Linked DNA regions of Homo sapiens: region 2 is linked to region 1. Evidence: promoter capture Hi-C in 16 types of primary human blood cells and fetal thymus (Javierre and others, 2016). All regions are on one chromosome and are shown on one strand. Each heading gives the region's core, a stretch centred on a gene start or on the middle of the fragment in contact. The rest is flanking DNA. Distances are from core to core; before and after follow the strand shown. Region 1 holds the start of CCRL2 (C-C motif chemokine receptor like 2). Region 2 has its middle 76 kb from the start of CCR1.

Region 1 (3,487 bases), core at 801-3,300:
AAATAATACTGAAAGTGAAGGTCATGCTAATATTAGTAAGCCAGGGTGATCCTGAATTTACAAAACATTTTTCTTTGGGAAATTTCACACCTCACATGATTCTGTGTTTTTACTTGGGAAATTTCACATCTCACATGACTCTGTGACATGCGGTACATGAGGTGCCTGACTGCTGTTTTTGTCCTCTACTAATGAGGAAGAGTGTGCGTACTCCCAGCGTTTTGCAAGTTTCAAAGTCTGACTTGACTTTCCTTCCTTTTCCTGGAACTGATCCATGAGTATCGAGAGTAAAGCTGCCCGCACCTACTCATTCAAGATCCTGAGTGTCCTGCCCAGCTGCAGGAGGTGGAGAGACCCAGGAGGAGGGGCCACTGCTGATCCCAGGCTGTAGGGGGTGGGAAGAGTGTCCCAGGGCACCATGACCCCCACTCACTCACTCACAGGAGACCCACACAAGAGAGGAGAGGGCACTTACAGCTTAGGTTCCCACCAGCACCAACTCCTCTGCCATCAAACATCATTGTGTTTCTCTTTCTGCCTTGTCTGTCGGCACACGTGGAGTTAAATTTAATGCTCAATCACATATTTGTCTGGGCTCTTTCTGTGTTTATTTTTCTCTTAATAGTTCTCTCTCCTCCCTTCCTCTCCCCGCCCCTCCTCCTCCTTCTTCTTTTTTTTTTCCAGAGACAGTGTCTCGCTCTGCCACCCAGGCCAGAGTGCAGAGTGGCATGATCATGGCTCACCGCAGCCTCCAACTCCTGGGCTCACGTGAACATCCCACCTTGGCCTCTGGAATGTCTGGGATTACAGGCACTTGCCACTGCATCTGGCTAATTTTTATATTGTTTATAGATCCGGGATCTCACTATGTTGCCCAGGCTGGCCTCAAACTCCTGGGCTCAAGCGACCCTCCCACCTCATACTTCTGAGTAGCTGGGGCTGTAGGAATGCGCCTCAGTGCCAGGCTAGTTTCTTAATTTTCTATTTCTATTTTGACAGGTACAAATTTTGTATTCAATCCTACCTCAGACACATCTTTGGTGGGAAAAGGATGTCATTTAATCAATATATAAATTCTAAGCAAATAGGTCTGATCCCCAAATTAGGTTAGTCACAGCTGCTGAGTCGTTGACCCAAGAGAAGCTCATCTAGATTTTTTCATTATTTTCAAGTTCCTCTTCTCGGTTCGTCCTTCTTCCAGACCGTGCCCTCCCCGTCCCACTCTCTTCCCACAGCCTCCCCTCCCCACAGCCTCCTCCCACCATTCCAAATCTGGGCTGTTCTCTCAATTTCCTTCTCTCTGGACTCAAACCTACCCTAGCCCCCAGCCTCAGTTTGGGGTTAAACTTGTCCTCCTCACATTCTCTCCCACCCAACTTGATGTCGCCTCTGTGTCATCACCACGGGATTTTCCTCCTCTGGGTTCTCCTTTTCCGAGTGGGGTCAGCTCCCCCATGAGTCACAGCACCAATCACTTCTGGCTGCTTGCAAACCCCTTTGCTTTCCTCAGTGTTGACACCCAGGGCAGCCCTATGCTCACTGCCGCTGAGACCCCACCTCTGCCCCTGGCCTTTTCCCAGCTGACATCACCCTGTGGCTTCCATTTTCCTAAAATTCTCTTTTGAGGCCTCAGTCTTAACCAAAGCACACAGTGCCCCTCAAAAATGACAATAAAAACCCAAACACACCGTGACTGTCATGGCAGGTTCCTGGTCCCCGTATTGAATCAGCGGGTGGGTTTCTGCGAACACTGGTGAGAGGCCGCATTAGAGGGTCAGGACCCTCAGGTCTGGACTCGTGGTCACCACATACCTTCCTCCCTGCTGACAGTAGCTGGTACCTGTTACCTACTCAGAGTGTCACATGCCACAAGCCAGAGCGTCTTGGCAGTTCTCAGCACCTTGACATCACTTCCTTGCTACCACTCAGAGCGGCAGTGACACAGTTCCCTTATCTCAGAAGGCCAGAAGACGGCTGTCAAAGGTCACAGGGAAATCAAAGGCGGGGTACAGGGCCAGAGGGAGGAGGAAACAACTTCCCGGTTGCTTTCAGACGCTTCAGAGATCCTCTGGAGGCCTGGGGGAGCTTTTGAGTACTTTATTTCAGTTGGTCCCTGAGCTCGGTGAGTGGGGCGGGTAGAGCCACCAGGGGAATCAACAGTGGTTTCTCGTGCCCCTCAGGGTCAGGAGCAGTCTGATCAAAAGGAGGGCATCCACTGTCCGGGGCCATTCCCACAGCTCCCGGATGCTGGGTCTGGAGGCTGCGCCCTTCCCCTGCAGGAGCTCAGCCCAGTGGTAAGTCATCTGTGTGTCATCTATGTATTTAACCCCTTATGGCCATGTTGATGCTGAGCATGGTTTCACTTTTGCAAACATTTATTTATACCCTTCGAGAGAAAAACGTCTCAGCTGTCACAGGAAGCTGCTTCGGGGGGTGAGCAAACTTTTTAAAATGCAGAAATTATGATCTACACCCGTTTCTTAAAAGTAAGCCATCGTACTTGGTTCTCTTTAATTATATATTTTCTTACATATTGTGTTCATGTAGGCAAGTCCTGTTTCTGCTAAAAGAAGGTAAGTTCTACCAAGGCGGTGTCATGCCAGCTTTATTTCCCGTGGCACCTGGCACACTGCTAAGCACTTACATGCTTAACAACTAGATTGGGAATGGTGCTGCTCTGGGGAAGTGGGCACACGTTAAAGAAATGTTTATTTCAGTCTTCTGAAATAGGGAATTACTCTGGCTAAAATGTAGCTCCAGAAAGGGAAAGTGGGGCTGTATGAATCCAGGTCCAGTTTGTTGTTTCCTCCAGGATAAGGCAGCTGTCGGAGGGGAAAATCATCTCCCATTTCTCCACAGGGCAGTCTGAAGATGGCCAATTACACGCTGGCACCAGAGGATGAATATGATGTCCTCATAGAAGGTGAACTGGAGAGCGATGAGGCAGAGCAATGTGACAAGTATGACGCCCAGGCACTCTCAGCCCAGCTGGTGCCATCACTCTGCTCTGCTGTGTTTGTGATCGGTGTCCTGGACAATCTCCTGGTTGTGCTTATCCTGGTAAAATATAAAGGACTCAAACGCGTGGAAAATATCTATCTTCTAAACTTGGCAGTTTCTAACTTGTGTTTCTTGCTTACCCTGCCCTTCTGGGCTCATGCTGGGGGCGATCCCATGTGTAAAATTCTCATTGGACTGTACTTCGTGGGCCTGTACAGTGAGACATTTTTCAATTGCCTTCTGACTGTGCAAAGGTACCTAGTGTTTTTGCACAAGGGAAACTTTTTCTCAGCCAGGAGGAGGGTGCCCTGTGGCATCATTACAAGTGTCCTGGCATGGGTAACAGCCATTCTGGCCACTTTGCCTGAATTCGTGGTTTATAAACCTCAGATGGAAGACCAGAAATACAAGTGTGCATTTAGCAGAACTCCCTTCCTGCCAGCTGATGAGACATTCTGGAAGCATTTTCTGACTTTAAAAATGAACA
Region 2 (3,388 bases), core at 365-2,864, 280 kb before region 1:
TGGTACCTCTGTGCACTGTGCCTGGTGCTAGGGACATTGAAATAAAAGATATAGGTGCTGCCCACAGGAAACACACAGTCACTGGGAGAGGCGGGCACATAAGCCCATCTGCAAAACAGAATGATACTCTGATAACCGCTGTTGGACCAAGCAGTGAGGGAGTGGCCCTGGCTGGAGTGGTGAGGTCAGGCACAGGAGGGAGGTGATGCTTAGGCACTTTGTGCGAACTTCACTAGTTGGGCCTGATGGAGCAGACGCAAGAGTGGGGTGGAAGGATACAACTGAGAAAGAGTCTGGTGTATTCAGGAGCCTCTGCGTGGCTTGGCGTGGGGAGCACCAGGACCATATGTCAGGGGATGAGGGTAGGCAGGGCCCTCACTAGGTCGTGTCTGCAGTTTGGCCTGAGTGTCATAGGAGGGGAGTGACAGGGAACAATTTGCATTTTAGAAAACGTGAAAGGGCAGATGAAAAAAATGAGCACAATGACTGCAGTATAAAATGTATTACTAGGCCGGCACAAGTAAAAATGAACAGGTTCTTAGAGGAGGATTATGTTCTCATTCCTTTTCAGGAAGTTTCCTTTATCATGACATTGTTTTTACACCAAAATGTGATTACTGTAAAAAGGGAACTGTGGTTAGTGTGAAAAGGGAACAAGCATGGAGTTACCAGAATCACATTTTCCTGACTGGAAAGAAGTCACAAGAAAACAACAGAGAACACTCACTCCATGTTCAGCATGAAGGAGAACTGCATGATCCAGGGAGGTTTAGGGGACCAAGAAGGTGGATAGGCTCTAACTGGGGCAGGCAGCAGGTGCGGCTGCAGAAAAGCGAAGGACTCCGAGCCCCGTGGTGCCTGCCTAAGAGTGAGCCAAACTCAGAAAGCCTGAGGCCCTTCTAGATGAAAGGTGACTGATGCAAAGCTTGATCCCAGATTGGATCTGGGTTATGGGAAGACAGCTCACCAGGGACTATTTAAGGGCAATTGGCGAAATGTAGACATGGAAGATGGACCAGACAACAGCATGAGATGAATGTTAAATTTCCTGATTTTGATCCTTGTTCTGTGGCTATGTAAGAGAATGTCCTTACTTTTAGAAAATACACATGGGGCATTTTTGGGAAGTTTTTAAGGGCATGGTGTCTGTAACTTACTCTCAAGCAGTTCAGGAAAATAATATATAAATTAGATATGAAGAGAAGTGAGGGGAGGAGAATAACACAAATGGGGGCAAAATATTAACATTGGTGCATCTGGATAAGATGATCTTTGGACAGAGTTCTTTGAACTATTCTTGAAACATCTGCATAAAATTTGAAGTTATATCAAATTTGAAACTTACAAAGAAAAGGCTTAGGGTTGGATTCTGCTTGGGCTGGAACATAAACTCAAGGTGAGAATATAGCCAACTTTGTGAATAGAGCAACTGAACCAATACTGGGTTTTTTGTTTTCTTTAAAAATCATTCTCTGTGGAAGATCAACTTAAATCTATTCTGCCAATATTGATAATTACTGACTAGCATGTGGTTTTATTTGCACTATCATTTTAATGGTGTTTACTTTATATATTAATTTTTGGCCTAATTAATTGGAGGCTTCCAGAAGGACGATCCCCTGGAACAATTTTCCTTGTGTTTCCCCCTTTTTGTTCTGCAAGCGTATAGCGTATGGCAGCAAGGAGGATCTCATTGCTCTCAGGGAGGGTGCAGGACACAAGGGCAGTGTGTGGCCTGATGAAAGCTGCTTGTCCTGGGAGCCCTCAGCACACAGAACTTTAGTAGAAGGGAAACCCTTTCACATCAGGAGCCAGAAGCCTTGTTAGGGGAGGGACTGCAGATATTGAGTCGAGCAAATCTGGCAGGGTGGCTTACGGTGAGAGGAAAGGACTAGTAGGCCAAGGGCAAAGGTAAATTCACCAGGGCAAAGGCAGTCTGAGCTAAATGCAAGAGCCTGGGCTTTGCTGTGTGTATGCAGGGAGATTATGGAATAGCACAGCCAAGACCAGCAGCCTCCTGGCCCAGCGACTATGGCATGGGGCCACGCCCTGGGAACGATGGAGCTCCAGGCTTGGAGCATGTGTGAGCTGAAGGACCTCCAGGTGGAGGCTGGTGGGTGGCACCTCGACAGTAGTCTGAAGCGAGCCAGAGCAGCGAGGGCCTTGCCTCATCAGCAAGCAATTGTCCCTGGGGCTGCACCAGTCAAGGCTTCAACACTGACAATGTGATGTCTCTAGAACAGAGTAGTGGTGACCAGAATAGCCCCTTCCATTCTCTCCTAGCTTATGTTTGGAAGAAGGACAAAAGCTTTTCAAGCCCTCAGTGTTCTTCTGTTATTTGAAAAGGAGGCTTCAGGAGGGAGGCACTGGGCACCATTTTTCTGGAACTATTAACTGATGAAATTTTAAAAAAGATGTGTTTGTACCCAGTGGTAGATAATCTCCAAATGTGGTCACCATCAGGTCCGATGTCCTTTCCTGTATGTGTCAAGGGGGGGAATGTATGTCCCCTCCCCTCATGTCTGGATTTGCCCTGTGCCTGCTTTGACCAAATGTGGAAGTGATATGCTCGGACTTCCGAGCCCAGGTCTTACGGCCTGGCAGCTTCTGTTTTCTTCCTCCAGGGACATTCACTCTTGGTTCCTCCCTCTGGATCCCAGTGCCCCTACTATAAGAAGCCCAGTTTAGAGAGGCCAGGTGGTGGAGGGCTGAGGTCCTGACCAACAGCCTCAGCAGAGCTCCTGGTAGACACAGAACCACCTGGCCAGCTCTGTGAGGGGGGCCAATCTGCACCTGCCAGCCCTGCAGCACCAGCCAAGACCATACAAAGAACCACTCGGTCAATCCACAGAATCATAATGAATGGCTTTGTTATTTTAAACCACTAAGTTTTAGGGTGGTTTAAAAAAAAGTATTGATTGAGCATCAAAATATACCCTAAATTAGTCAAGTGAATGAAGCAGAGATTATATATATATCTGTCTCCTAATTGACCAGGTCAGGGAGTGGCTACTTCAGGCTTGGCTGACAGAGCCTGAACCTCTTTATTCAGCCCACAAAGACTCAGGACACCTCTGATGGCTGTCCCTGCATCTATAGCTTCCTAGACCTTGGCCCAGGGACTCAGAGATGTCAGTGCTGGAAAGAGCCATAGGGGCCACTTAGTCCAGTGACTTCATGTTGTCAATGGATAAACTGAGCCCAGAGAGGGAAGATGACCTGCTCAGGTCACAGAGCTGGAAGTGAAGCTGGATCGAGAGTAGGTCTTCTGAAACCACCCCGTTCCTTTTTCCACTGTCATAATTAGGTTCGCCTGTGTTGGCTGCTTTCTGTGTGCCATGCACCCTGTGCATTCTCCCTGTGAACCCTCCCTTCAGCTCTCCATCCT

The links. The method cuts DNA at HindIII sites, captures the fragments that hold promoters and counts their contacts. A CHiCAGO score of 5 or more calls a contact.
Region 2: a fragment that was not itself captured here is called in contact with the fragment with the promoter of CCRL2 in region 1 in 3 of 17 cell types (M0 macrophages, M1 macrophages and M2 macrophages); the score reaches 9.6 in M0 macrophages.

What each region holds. Positions count from the first base shown.
Region 1 is chr3:46,405,209-46,408,695 of GRCh38, forward strand. It overlaps CCRL2 (C-C motif chemokine receptor like 2), which reads left to right and starts at 2,051. Exons shown (of 2, transcript NM_003965.5): 1 at 2,051-2,294; 2 at 2,860-3,487. The coding sequence starts at 2,872. It overlaps CCR5AS (CCR5 antisense RNA), which reads right to left and starts at 1,858. Exons shown (of 4, transcript NR_125406.2): 1 at 1,689-1,858. The HindIII fragment of the contact is 3,797 bases long and covers 1-3,487 here.
Region 2 is chr3:46,130,185-46,133,572 of GRCh38, forward strand. No RefSeq gene overlaps it. Among named protein-coding and RNA genes, the nearest start is that of CCR1, 76 kb to the right of the region's middle. The HindIII fragment of the contact is 1,383 bases long and covers 924-2,306 here.